Regions from separate parts of the Homo sapiens genome. Here region 1 is linked to region 2. The links are contacts of gene promoters, found by promoter capture Hi-C in human tissues and cell types (Jung and others, 2019). All regions are on one chromosome and are shown on one strand. Each heading gives the region's core, a stretch centred on a gene start or on the middle of the fragment in contact. The rest is flanking DNA. Distances are from core to core; before and after follow the strand shown. Region 1 overlaps EXOC6B (exocyst complex component 6B). Region 2 holds the start of CYP26B1 (cytochrome P450 family 26 subfamily B member 1).

Evidence for each region. The method cuts DNA at HindIII sites, captures the fragments that hold promoters and counts their contacts. A contact is called where the count stands out against the background at its distance.
Region 1: a contact is called between a fragment that was not itself captured here and the fragment with the promoter of CYP26B1 in region 2, in 1 of the 25 tissues and cell types used here (dorsolateral prefrontal cortex).

The regions. Positions count from the first base shown.
Region 1 is chr2:72,715,882-72,722,779 of GRCh38, reverse strand. EXOC6B (exocyst complex component 6B) reads left to right here. Exons shown (of 22, transcript NM_015189.3): 6 at 4,473-4,677. It also overlaps the pseudogene RNU2-39P. Among named protein-coding and RNA genes, the nearest start is that of EXOC6B, 110 kb to the left of the region's middle. The HindIII fragment of the contact is 4,829 bases long and covers 1-4,198 here.
Region 2 is chr2:72,146,535-72,153,961 of GRCh38, reverse strand. CYP26B1 (cytochrome P450 family 26 subfamily B member 1) reads left to right here and starts at 6,100. Exons shown (of 6, transcript NM_019885.4): 1 at 6,100-6,331. The coding sequence starts at 6,128. RefSeq lists a silencer at 2,610-2,785 and enhancers at 6,211-6,712, 6,902-7,424. The HindIII fragment of the contact is 9,668 bases long and covers 478-7,427 here.

The sequences.
Region 1 (6,898 bases), core at 535-3,034, 570 kb before region 2:
GTGTTTATCTTTTTGGCTTAATTTTTGGCTTTCTATCCGTTCTAAAGTTTCTCTCTAGAGGAATTGCATTTTATTGCACATAGCTCTTCATACCTAATTGTAGTATAAACACCATTCTGTTTACACTAAACCATGTGAATTGTATTGTTTTTGAGCCTGTAAAATTTTAATAAGAGCAATGATTTCAGATTTAACTATATTTGTACTTTTATTTCTAAATTTAGGGGGAATAAAACTTTCTTCCCTCCATTTACTTAAACAAAGACTTTGATTTTTGGAACACATGAGGGAAAACATTAAAACAAAACAAAACAAAACAAAAAAACCAAGTAAAACCAGTCTCTAGTCTTTAGCATTTGTGGTACTAAATTCATTAGAGCAAGAAGAGTTTAAGTATCTGCTGTGAAAATCATTCTTAAAGTCCAAAATAGAGCTATAAGTCTTTTTTCTTTTTAAGGATGGAACTGAATTTTTCCTATACCAAATATATCATGGGAAACATGGAAATTAGGAAATTAAAAGTATGAAGGAGAAAATTATCTTGTAATATTGCCATCCAAAGGAAATTAGCTCGTAATATTGCCATCCAAAGGAAAAATATGCCTAACATTTTTGTATTTATTTTTCTCATTTTGCTCTCTACTTTTGTGTGTGTGTGTGTTTCCAGTGATATATATCTCATATATGCATACATGTTCATAATTTATATGTGTAAGTATTTATAATTTTGAAGAATATTATGATTATACTTGTAAGATCTTTTTTTTTTTTTTTTCAATTAGAGCACCATTCCTGGAGGTACTGCAATGCCAGGTTGATGCATGAAGTGGACTAAATAAGTTCCCATTTTATCTCCCTGCTGCAAAAATCCATTTAATAAATATTGTCCTCTGATAAGAGGATGTATCAGATATTAAACTGATAAGATATATCAGATATTAAATTTGATCTTAGCCAAAAGGCCAAGAGGCAATTAGATCTATTTTTTGAAATGATTTTCATTCAACAATATTGTAAACATTTTGCTATTTTATTAGCCTTTTACTACTTCTTATTAGACATCTAGGTTAGTTTTTTTATTTGCTAATATAAATAATTCTATAATTCAAGAGGCTTATACATACTGCTGTGCATCTTTTTTTTGTTTGGAAATGCAATTGCTTAAAATAGTTGTTTTGCTAAAATTCTTCATTGAAAACTTGTGTCATTAATAAAAACCTGTTTGTCAGCTGGCTGTGAATTCCATTATTGAAACCCCTGATGTATTACAAATTATTTTTTAAGAAATATTTGGCAATTTGATTTGCATTTTTTCACATATCAGTTAAACATTTTTTTTTTTTTTTCATATGTTGGCCCTTTTTGGTTCTTTTGTGAATTTTCTTTGTTCATTTTTTTTTTTTTTTTTTTTTTTTACAAAAACAACTCAAGTTTATTAACCTTTTTTCTTTGAGATGGCGTCTTACTCTATCACCCAGGCTGGAGTGCAGTGGTGTGATCTCAGCTCACTGCACCCTCCGTCTCCTAGGGTCAAGCAATTCTCCTGCTTCAGCCTCTTGAGTAGCTGGGATTATAGGCTCCCACCAACATGCCCGACTAATTTTTGTATTTTTAGTAGAGAAGAGGTTTCACCATGTTGCCTAGGCTTGTCTTGAACTCCTGACCGCAAGTGATCTGCCTGCCTCAGACTCCCAAAGTGCTGGAATTACAGGCATGAGCCACCACGCCTGGCCTATTAATCTTTTAGGTACACATTACAAATAAACGTTACCAGTTTTTCTCTTTATTCTTATGTTTTCTTTGCATAACTTATTTCGTTTCTACCTATTCAGCTTTATTAATCTTAATTTTATTTGTCCTTCTATGCTTATAGAAGCTTTCCTATTAGACAAATATCATCCCTTTTTTTTTTATGGAATGTCCCTCTGTGTTACTAGCAATATTTGTTGGCTTAAAGTCTTTTGTATCTCATATTAATACAGCCATTTCAGCTCTTTTGTGTTTCCTTTATTTTTTATTTTTATTTTTTGACGGGTCTCACTCTGTTACCCAGGCTAGAATGCAGTGGGCTGATCTCAGCTCACTGCAACCTCTGCCCACCCGGGTTTAAGTGATCCTCCCACCTCAGCTTCCCAAGTAGTTGGGACTACGGGTGCACGCCACCACACCTGGCTAATTTTTTTGTAATTTTTTTGGTAGAGATGAGGTTTTGCCTTGTTGCCCAGGCAGATCTCAAACTCCTGAGCTCAAGTGATCTGCCCACCTTGACCTCCCAAAGTGTTGGCATTATAGGTATGAGCCACTGTGCCCAGCCTTGTGGTTTCTTTTTTTTATGGCATATCTTCTTTCCTCTTTTACTTTCAACCTATTTGTATCTTTGAATCTAAGTGTGTTTCTTGTAGACAATATGTAGTTGGATCATGCTTTTTAAGTCCTGACAATGTTGGCCTTCCAATTGGAGTGCTTAGTCCATTCACATTTAATGTAATTATTGATATGGTTGGATTTTCTTCTTTGTTTTCTATTTTTCATGTCTTTTTTTGTTTTGTTTTTGTTGCTCCTTTACTGCTTTCTTTTGTGTTATATATTTTTAGTGTACTATTTGAATTCTTTTGTTGATTTTCAAATGATATATATTTTTGGTTTTTTAGAGGTTGTTCTATGGATTATAATATGCATCTTATCACAGTCTACTGGAGGTCACTGCTGCTATAAATTTGGTAAATATATAGCAGTAGTTTTGCTTCCATTAGCTCCATTTCTTTCCTACTCTTTTGTGCTGTTATTGTTAGATATATTACACTTAAATATTTTGTAAACCCAATGATACAGTGTTATAATCATTGCTTTAAAAAATCTTATCTTTTAAAGAAGTTAAGAAAAGAGAAAAAATACTTGTCTTTCATATTTAGCATGTATTTACTATTTCCCATGTTCTTTGTTTCTTTCTGTGAATTCAAGTTACCATCTGCTGTCATTTCCTTTCAGGCTTCCTTTAGTATTTCTTGTAAGGCAGGTCTGCTAGCAAGGAATTTTCTGTCTTTGTTTATCTAGCAAGGTATCATATTTCACTTTGATTTTTAAATAGTCATCAGCTAATGATTGGTTAGAGGTTATGCTCAAACAAACTTGAGTGAGTAAGGTTTCCAGTCTTTGCTAATGAGTTTGTATATGGGTTAGGGACTACATTAAAAGCAGTTTTAAAGTCAGCTTAAACTTTTACCTACCTTCTTAGGTTTCCCACGTGCCTGTCTACAGCCTCCTAGTCAGCCAGGGATGAGTGGATTGCTTAGACCCTTTTAGGTGTCGCCTGCAGGTATGCATAGCCTCTCAGCCGGCTAGCAACTTGCGGAGTTTATCAAGCCCTTCTGTAGGTCTTTTATTTTTATGACTTCCCCGTTAAATTTCTGATTAGTCCTTTGGTCTGTTGTTTGCCCCAACCCAAATTGTAACATTTGACCAGTAGAGCTGGAGACTTTTCTTAATTTATTTATTTATTTTTACTGAGTTTGCTACTTTCACTAACAGCATCTCTCAATATGAGTTTTTTGCCCTCTGCTCCAAATTGTGTCAGCCCCTCATCTCAGGAAAGCTGCTGGTTTTCATGACTAGCCATGGCCAATGACCAGGGGTGGAGGAATTAGAGGGGGAGGGTGTTGGAAGTAGCCCCAGGCAAGAAAGCTACAGAGTCCCACTGTTGAGCAGTTATTATGAATAAACACTTCTTGATTTGTTGTTCTCTTTTGTTTAGTTTCCAGAACCCTGAAATAGTTGTTTTGGATAGTTTACATTTGTTTTCTTTGGATAGAAGATTTGCCAAGCTTTTCTGTGTGCCATAGTTGGAAGTCTAGCCTTGGATACTTCATTTTATAGGATGAATTTTTTTTTGGCATTGAGACAATCATTCTTTATTTCCTTTTATTTCTCTTTTTTTAAGATTGAGTCTCACTTCGTCCTCTAGGCTGGAGTGCACTGGCGTGATCTTGGCTAACTGAAACCTCCGCCTCCGGGGTTCAAATGATTCTCATGCCTCAGCTTTCTGAGGTGGCTTGCGCCACCAGGCCTGGCTAATTTTTGTATTTTTAGTAGAGATGGGGTTTTACTGTGTTGACCCGGCTAGTCTCAAATTCCTGGCCTCAAGTGATCCACCTGTCTTGGCCTCCCAAAGTGCTGGGATTACAAGCATGATCCACCATGCCTGGCCCCTTTTATTTCTCTTATGTCATTAATTTTATTGGTAGCTATTTTAAATCTTATGCATTCTTTGGATAAAATCTTTTTTTGATTATAATTTCCTGGTCTTTTAAAGTATGTATTAGTTTTTAATAATTTGAGATTCTTTTCACTGATGTTCTCATTAAAACTTCATGCTGGATTTGTGTTAATGCACAGTGAAAACCAATTCAGGCTAGACATTTTGCCTAACCCTAAAGAAAACTGAGTGAGCTAAAGGTGATCAATTCCTTTTGTAGGCATTATCCTGCACTGAAAACTCTGGAACATCTAGAGCATACCTACCTGCCTCAAGTAAGCCACTATCGATTCTGCAAGGTGATGGTGGACAACATCCCCAAGCTTCGAGAAGAAATAAAAGATGTTTCTATGTCCGATCTCAAAGACTTTCTGGAGAGCATCCGCAAACATTCAGACAAAATTGGAGAGACTGCCATGAAGCAAGTAGGTCTTGGGTTTATGATAGGTTGGCCAGTGGCTTTATCAGTATTGAGTTAAACACAGGTTTCTCTTTGCCAAGTGTCTAGTCATTATCTTATCCAAGTTTCTTATCATTTTAGGGAAGTCCTTCATATTTATGGAAACATATGATTAAAAATGTTTTCATTTTTTTAACAGAGCAATGGACAATTTGCTCTGTAGATGTTCAGTAAATATTGATCAGTTGTGATGGTTTACATTGAGGTTATGAAGAAATTTTTCTACTGTTTGTATACTTCCCTTGACTTTGCATATAATTTGTAGCTTAAGATATTTTAAAGTTCTCCTTCTAGTTAATGACCTAAATTGTACTGCATGTGTCTTTGGCTGATTATTTACTACGTAAGCAAGATAGCATGTTATATATGCATATTTCTGATATTAATAGGTATCAGTGAAAAAAGGCCTATTAGGAAATGCTTTGAATTATGATCAAAGAAAAGGATTTATTAACAGCTTATATATTAAAAAATATGTTAGCAGTATATACATTTGTTAAAAAAATCTTCATTCCTAAGTCACCAAAGTCACAAGGAACATCTAAATTTCTTTTTTTAAATTATGAATGAAAGGTCAGTAATGTTTTATAATGGCATTTGCTCACTTGAAATTTGTCACATTGATTTTATTAAAAATTTTTAGTATACCTGATGATGTAGCCTACAGCAACAAATACAAGAGTCAGTTGTTTATGGAAAGTACTTTTTGGTTCTGTAAACAATAGTGTTCTTGAATAGATCATTTGTAGTTTTTATCATTCTGTGAGGAATGAGGGAATAGATTATATTTCAAATCATATTTTAGGTCTCGACTAGCCTTGATAATCTATTCAGATGTCTATTTGATCTATAATATCTATTTGATCCTCCAAAAGAGATTCTCCAGTTACCCTTTCCTCAGGGAATGCAGATATTTCCCTTTTCTTCCTTTAAATTTTGTCAGTGTTATACTTCACAAAGTGCAGAGTTTAAAACTAGATGATAAACCTGATAGAAATAATTATATGATTTCATTGCTTATAGTGATGGAGAAATAAAATTAATCAGTGACAATATACCTTAGCATTGCTGGGTACGTATTTTGAATACAGGAATGAAGCTATCTTCTAAGATAAGTCTTTATTGTGATTGGTTCAGTTTTTCCTAAGCTTTTAAAATATAGGAGAGTGTAGTACAAAGCCTCTATGGAAGTTGCCTTTTTAAAAATTGCTTTTTCTAGGCCTCTGCTTGAGAAATTAATTTACTTCCCTTTTGATGAAAGAAAGAGGAAGCCATGAAGAATATTACTTTATTTAACGTGAGGCCAGCTGGTCTCATTCCTTAATTATCTGAAGAAATTAAGACCCAGAGGAGGGAAGTAACTTGCCTCAAGTTCAAATACCTTGTAAAGGTCAGATCCTGCATTAGAATTCAGGTTGGGTTGAAATGAATTTGTCTACTATGGTACTCAATCTGTGTAAACTATTAGCTGTTTGCTATATTTTTGTCATATAAAGAAATGATGAAGAAATCTTTTGTGAATCCAGGACTTTTAATTAACTGAGAAATCTTCATTTCTCCTATAAAATATTTCATCTCAGGATCCTTGAGTAAAGATATGTTATGTTAACACATTAAAAAATCTTTTGTAGTACCGAGAGTGTAAGGAAGATAGGAGAGAGAAAATACCATGTACTTTGTACGTAGTAGGTGTTCAATAAATGTTTGAATTCCCAGATAAGAGGGAGAGGAAGTGGTTTATTTCTCACTGCCTCAAGCCCAAAATAGTGTTTCTGGTTTGTGATGGTTTTCTTTGCAATGGTGATTTAAGTACTTAGAATCCTTCCATTGTATGGCTCTTCCATCTTTAAGATGGCTTTGAAGATTGCTTCAGAAGGGGAAAGACCAAAGAGTGTTGCATGTGGGAGGGTCTTTAAGGGCCAGGCATGGATGCCACACATTACTTCTACCCATATTCTGTTGGTCTGAACTTAATTATATAGCCATACCTAGCTGTAAGAGAGGCTGGAAAATGTAATCTCACTCATTCTCTAACAGGAGGAGCAAATAGGTTTGATGAATAATAGCTAGTATCTGGCACAGTCTACCTTCTGGTCATCAAATATCTTTTCATTCTTTCTCTCATACATAGAACACACTCACTCCTTCCTTAGGGGGCAACAGTCCAATGGCCCATGTAGTCACTA
Region 2 (7,427 bases), core at 4,851-7,350:
TGGCACTAAGGAACAAAGAAGGAGAAGAAGCCAGCCTTTAGGAAATAAACACACAGAGCCCAGAACCCAGCTCTGTTTCAGCAACACTGAAACAGCAGGATGGCCTCTCCAAGGCGCGGGTGGGCTGGGTGGGTTTCTGGCAGGCGGTGGTTTTCGGGGGTCAGTGAATTCTCTACACAGCCTCAGAGCCCCTGAAGCTGCAAGGGGTGGGGGGAGGAGAAGAGTTTAGCCCCTAAAGGCAGAATTCCTGGTACCGCGGTGATTTCCAAGCTGAGCTGGGTTGAGTGCCACCATACACCCCTATCCCCACCCAGCCTGGACAGCAGGGATCCCAGCCCCTGTCAGAACAGCCAGGGCACAGGCAGGGAGCGCCCTCTAAGCTGCCCTTGAGGACTGGGCACTGGATGGGGGCTGCCGATCTTGTGGCGCCGGCTCTGGAGGGAGGGCACGAAGTGGGGGAAGGGTAGGCACCTGGGCCTCGGGATGAATATCTGGGGCCACAAGCTGGGTTCCAGGGGAAAGCGGCATCCCTGACCCACCGGAGTCACAGTTTCTGCTCTGGCTCTGGAGAAGGGTCTGGGCAGGACCTGCCGCCCCAGGTCCCTCTCCTCCATAGCTCCTCAGAAATGTCGTTTCCCCATGGGACTTGGTATCTTGCAGGCAAAGGGCCCCGCCACTGTCAGGCAGTGTACCAAGAAGACTTAGAACAGAAGGGAGCCAGCCCGAGGCCCTGGGAAGAATGAGAAGGAGCCGAGAGCTGAGTTTTCCAAGGACTCCTTCATGCCAGCAAGGCAGGACAGGACTAAGAGCAAAGAGCTCCCTGAGGCGAAATCCTGGGCTTTGTCCCTCAGGCTAGACAGCCCAAGGTGCAGGCCAGAGGCTGGGAGGGCTTTCGCAAACTCTTCTGGTCCCTGAACACACGGCTCTGCCTCCTGCTCACTGCCTCCTGGTCTCTTTGCTCTCTGGACTCCCTGGCCAGTAGGGCCAAGTGGTCGTCTTGATCCTGGACATTTTCCCCCTTTCTGTTTGGCTCCGGGTGGAAGGATTAGAAATAATTTTAGGGGAAAAAAAGCAAATTAGCATCAATTGAAAAAATTCAAGGCCAAAACTATACAAAATTGAGTGTAAAATTGACAGCTCCTTCTGTTGTCGGCTTTAGTTGTCAGAAGCATGGACATTAAACAAAGAGAAAGCTGCCGAATGGACAGGATCTCATGGCTCCTGGAGATGTGTGCTTGTGTGGTGGGAGGGGAAACAGGACAATACAGTGTGTGTGTGTGTGTGTGTGTGTGTGTGTGTGTGTGTGTGTGTGTGTATGTGTGGCGGGAGTGGGCATTGAGGGACTCTGGCCCTCTGTTTTCTCATCAATGCAAAATGTAACAAGTAAATCTAATATCTAAAAATAGTATTATCTCACTATTTTATCTCACTGAAATATAATAGCTGTGGAAGAGAATTACTGGCTACACAGGACTGCACGCATGTAAGGGACTTGTAAGGGGTAATGCCTTCATTCTCCTGGGTGTAGCAAGTCCAGGGCAGACAGTACCGCTGTGTAGCTTTGTGTCTTTGTGAGCAGCAGGACTTTAGGCAGACCTGCCCCTGTATGCAGTGTTTTCTGAGCTAGGGAAGTGGGTGCAGAGGCTGTGCTTGCCCATTGCCTGCATATTCCGAGTGCCTGAGGCCTACCTTCTGTATTTCCCAGGCCCTTTCTGCCAAAGACTGCAAATGTCACCAGGCAGAGCTCCACTTGAACCAGCATCTCCTTACTCATGTCCCAGGCTGCTCTGACTGATTTCAAAGTGCCAGAAAGGCTACAGGGTCGTGTGACGCAGGCCCTGAACTGCAGCACTGCAGGCAATAGCTGAAGCCTGGGGGTATGCTCTGGGCCTATGGGAAAGAGTTGTCTCTGTGTGTGTGTGTGTGTGTGTGTGTGTGTGTGTGTGTGTGTGTGTGGTGGGGCGTGGCAGTCTGGGAGTTCCTACAACCAGCCCGGAGGGAGAGGGATGACCACTAGGCAACAGGCTTATCATCCCAAGGCTAGAATGAGGCAAATATTCCCTCCTAGAACACACTTGTGCTCCCAAGTGCCTCAGGGGTTGAGCTGTGCCGCAGCTTTGGGGCAGTCTACAAGGGGCCAGTCATACTTTTGTAGCCAAAGTGATACTTGGTAGTACTGGGATTCAGTCTGGACTTTGAGACAGGGTCAATCTTTGACCAGGATTAAGGATCATTCTGGGATTAGACTCAGAGGTCTGTTTTAGGTCAGGGTTACAGGCTAGACTGAGGTTTGGAGCAGGGCTCTGTCTGGGATCAGAGTCAGAAGTCTATCTGAGGTTAATGAAAGAAAGTCCTCTGATGGAATCTGACTGGCAAAGACAGTTGCCGAGCTTTCTCTGTCCTAGCCACCCTCTTCACAAGCCTGTCCATGGCCTCAGCACCCCCACTCTCCACAGCACCTCCAGGAAGTCTTAGAGTGGAGTACCATGCTCTCCTTTTCATCTTTCCGAAGTACTTTTTGAGATTTGAGCAGAGAGGCGGTTCTAATTAGGAAATCCAGCAACTATTGCTGTGGGGCTGTGACATCCCTGCAGACTTTCCCCAGGATCCCACTTGGCACAGGGTGTAAGGACTCAGAATTTCTCCTCCACAACCCTCCCAACTCCTCCTCTATACCTGAACAGGAAAAGAGGCTGAGCAGTGGAGGACAAAAGGGCACAAAGCCACCCCCACCCAGGAGTGAGGGGATGGGAGGAAGGCAATTGGCGTGTTGGGGGACTTCTGGGGCTGTGATCCCCACACGGCAGACACCTCCTGTGGTCTCTTGGGTTGGTGGCTGGAAGGTGGGTGTTTTGTGACTGTGACAATGATCCTTTGTGTGTGTGTGTGTGCTCAGTATCAGCCTGTACATCTATCTGCATCTCTATAAAGCTGTGTGCATGTCTGTCCTTTAGGAGATGGAGATTTCCACAGGTGAGTTTTCCTGGGTTACCTTGCCCATTTCACCACCTTGTGGCCAGTGCTGTGTCTGGGGGTCAGGCTAGATTCTTAGAGCTCTTCAAGCCAGCAAGACCTTAACAATCTCCCCCAACCCCATTTTATGTTAGCCTCATCCTCAGATAGGGTGTGGGGTGGCTCTGGCACTTTGACGTGCCCTGTTCAGATGTGACTGTTTTGTGAAACCACCCTGCTTCGAGGGTGCTTCCTAGCCCCCTGTTTCAGGACCACAGTGATCCTGACAGGGCCTTCGTAAGTGTCCGGCCCCAAGCATCCTGGGGTGGACGTCTGAGGTCACTGACACAGGAGCGGGGTGCTTTGGGAGCCTACAACCCGGCCCTTTGGAGCTGATCTCCCACTATGAAGGGCGAGTGCGGAAAGGGAGCAGAGGGAATTGTTTCCCCGAATCTGTAGTACTATAACTGCCCACCAGGTGGGGTTCCAGGGCAGAGAGTGAAGCCGAGGTGACCCAGCGCTAGGAGCTAGACCAGCGTTTAGATCTCCTGCCACACCAGCCTCGGAAGCGCTCACACAGGGAGGGACAACACATCTGTGCGCACCTTAGACGCTCACACACATTCTCGTCTCGTGAACTCTAAAGCAGAACTCGTACTGGGTGCAGGCAAGGTGTTAAAAGCGGAGTCTAGTATCGTTGACACACACACTACTCTAAACTAAAGATGGGATATCGACTCTGGCTCCGGGAGTGTGAGAGTGAACGCCAGAGCCAAGGGGGGCTGAGGGAAGCAGGATGCACGGGAGAGAGAGGGGCAGACATTAGCTAGACCAATGTCGGGGTTGCTGTACGCAGCTCCATGTTAACACAGGCTCGCAGGAGGAGAGGCCAGATGACAGATGCACGGATGCGCAGACACACTCATGGCTCTACAAAGAATACACAAACCCACAGACATACCACGTCGCTCCTCAGACGTCGGGCCGACGCAAGGCCACGCGCGCGAACACACAGGTGCGGCCCCGGGCCACACGCACACCGTACACAGGCACGCGCGCCGGGCCCTCTGCTGCCAGCGCTGAGAAGGTGGCCGTGCTCACCCAGCATGTTTATTTACTCATTTGTATCAATGAACGTTTGTGCCCGTCTTCTCCCGCCTCTGGGTACCGGGGCCGCCGCGTTTGTCCCCGCGCAGGACACTTGCCGGACCAGTATCGGGGTTCCCCGACGCTGCGGGCGGTGGAGGGGGACTACAAAAGCAGGGGAGGGGGGTCCCAATGTGCAGGAAAGGAGGGGCTGCAGAGTCAGCAGCCTGGGACGCTGACGGGGACAGGAGAACCTCCAGGTTCCGTAGGGTAAGAGACATATGGCGGGGGCGGACCTTAGCATCGGAGGTGTGAGGATATAGGGATCGGGAATGGGGGATCTGGCTTAGGGGGATTGGGACTGGTAACTCAGGGGTCCCTGGAGATAAGAGCCAGCGGGATCCCGGGGGTTGGAAGCTCGGGACCCTAAGGCACAGTTTCGAGGGCTTTGGGCGCCTGCCAGTCGAGGGGGCAGTCCGGCCAGGACCTCCGCTGCCGGGGCTTCGGCCCAGGAGGGACTGCTCGGAGCTGGAGGAGGGGACCGCTGACCTGGGAAGGAGGAAAAGAGGAAGGGAAGGAGCCTAGAAGCCAAGCAGGCACTAAGCGAGTGCGCACCGTGTGTGCGGAGGTGTGTGTGTTGTGTGTGTGCGCGTGTGTGTTGTGTGTGTGTGCGCGTAGGTGCGCGCGCGTGTGTCTCATCTCGTCCGTCTGTAGGCGCTGGGCTCAGCGAGACGCCGGCGAGAAAGAAGAGGAGGCGAGAGGTGAACTGAGTTTGATCCTGCGGCGGCTACAAGTGGGTCCCGGGCGGGCTGCGGGCGGCGGGCGGCGGGCGGCCGGGGCGGGGCGGGAGGCCGGGCTGCGCTCTCCAGCTCCGGCCGCGGGCCCGGCCTCTCACCACGCCTCCGGCTTTGTGAGCGCGCGGGTTGGGGCGGGGGGGTGCTGGCGGGGCGCCCACGGCGCAGCCTCCCGCCTCTATATAAACACACGCATCGCCTCGCTTTGGACTCAAATTCACATTGAGAGAAGCTTTTAAAACCACCAGCCCTGAAATCCTGCCTCCTGCTTTTCCCCCTCTTTCATTCCTTTTGCCTTCCTTTCTTTTTTCCCCATTTCTTCCCCCAGCAGCAACTCCAGAGCCGAGAGACCGCGTCCCGGGACGGACTGCCTTTTCTTAATTGATACAATAGCCCAGCTCGGGTTTTCCACCTCCTCCCCCAACCCCACCCCGCCTCACCCCTCCCGCCCGCTGCCGCCGCCGCCGCCGCCGCCGCCGCCGCCGCCGCCCCATCGCCCGCCCGGGGCTCTGTCGCCGGCTGCGTCCCGTCCCGGCCGCGGCCCGCCGGCTCCGCACCCGCGCTCGGGCCGCAGCGCCCGCCTCGCCGCCTCGCCCGCCGCTCCTGCCTCGGGGGTGCTGCGGCGGCTCTGGGGCTCGAGCGCGCCGCCCCGGGCAGCCCAGGGACTTTTAGGCTCCGGCCTCTCCACTCGCCTCAGCCAGGGAGCTTTCTCCCTCGCCCCCAAAGTTTCTGGGTTCGTTGGAATTTTTGGATTCAGGAATTTTTTCTTTTTTTCTTTTTTTCACCTAGGAATTTTGGGGCCATACTGCAATACTTTTGACAAATCGACCGCACTTTCTCTCTGCTAGCTCTCTGCCCCCTTCTTTTTTTCCGAGCAGGGGAAGGGGCTTACGAGAGAGAGGCTCCCTCTGGACAAAGTTTTCCAAAGTTTTCCGAGTGTGATGGTAGCGGGGAGAGCAAACCCACCAGCTTGACTCACGGCTTCATCTCACCACCCCTTGAGCAGCCCCTAAGCCCGCTATAAAGGAACAAACAAACAAACAAACAAACAAAGTTGCACCCCAGTCGCCTCGTGTTTCCTCTCTTCTTTTAGGCAATTTTTTTCCTCCCTCTCTCCGCTCCCCTCGCAGCCTCCACTCCCTTTCCCTTGGCCCCTTCCTCCTTCTCTGTTTCGGCTGGAGGTGCCAGGACCCCCGGCCGCAGCCTCCCCTCCCCCGCCGCTCCGGTCCCCTCCCGTCGGGCCCTCCCCTCCCCCGCCGCGGCCGGCACAGCCAATCCCCCGAGCGGCCGCCAACATGCTCTTTGAGGGCTTGGATCTGGTGTCGGCGCTGGCCACCCTCGCCGCGTGCCTGGTGTCCGTGACGCTGCTGCTGGCCGTGTCGCAGCAGCTGTGGCAGCTGCGCTGGGCCGCCACTCGCGACAAGAGCTGCAAGCTGCCCATCCCCAAGGGATCCATGGGCTTCCCGCTCATCGGAGAGACCGGCCACTGGCTGCTGCAGGTAAGGGCGCGCTCGCTCCGCTGCACTCCGGGGTCCGCTAGCTGCGAGCGCGGGGCAGACGGAGCGGCGGGCCGGCCAGGGGGCGCCGGGAGCCTGAAGGCACTGGTCCCCGCCCCGCCCCTTCCCTCCTCTCTGCCGCAGCAGCCCGGGCTTCCCCAGCCCGCCGGCAGCGCGGTTCCGGGACCACTGGCGCCCGCGGCGCAGGTTCAGGGGGCTGGTAAGAGGGGTTCCCGGACCTGAGGGGGCTCCCAAGATGGACTTGCCTGGGTCGCGGCTGGCCTGGCAGGGGGCGTGGAGCGCCCCGGGGGCGCCTAGCGAGGCGCGGTCCCGGGGGAGGGTCCGGTCCTGAGCCGCTTTCGCCTCCCCTCGGTGCTGCAAGCCCCCAGTCGCCCTCGGCTTTCTGGGGTTGGCTGTGTCGCTGGGAGCCGAAAATTGAGTCGGGAGAGGAGGGGGCTGGTGGCAGCTTGAATTGCCGATTTAAAACTGTGTTCCTGCGGCGCCGTCGGCAGCGCCAGGTACAGTGTCCCTGGTCCGCGGTCCGCGCGAGTGTGTCTGTTTTGTGGTGGAAGAGGAAGAAGGTAACCCAAGGAAAAATGAGAATCCAGGGCTCTAGGCTTTCGGGGAAAAGGGTCTATTTACTTATTGGGTGGGGACAGTTTGGCAGGAGAGGGAAACTTGGGAGAGGTGAGTGTGGGATCCATAGAGAGAGAGTGCGTGTGTGCTTGTTAGATGCCGCACAACCCCACTCTGCTGGTGATAACGGGGGTGAGGCGCGTCAGGGACCAGACCCAGGTAGGTAATGGGGAGATTAACCTGGAGTTCACCTCATCAAGTGCCAGACAATCGCTTTTGCAATGTGATACACACCGGTTTTCTTCTTGGGGTGGGGGAGCGGAGCGCCTCTGCAGTAACTGCGGGAGGTGTATTTGTGTGTACGCGCGTTTGTTCTGTTAGGGGAAGCAGGGATGTCCTGAAACTGACAATCCCCGCACTAGAGAGGTGAAGCGAAAGGTGAGCGCTGCGACCTGTGGGTTTACAGGTGCGAAAGCTTGGCTTGAAATTAACAGACGCGTGCAATCCGCGCGCTCGCGCACAC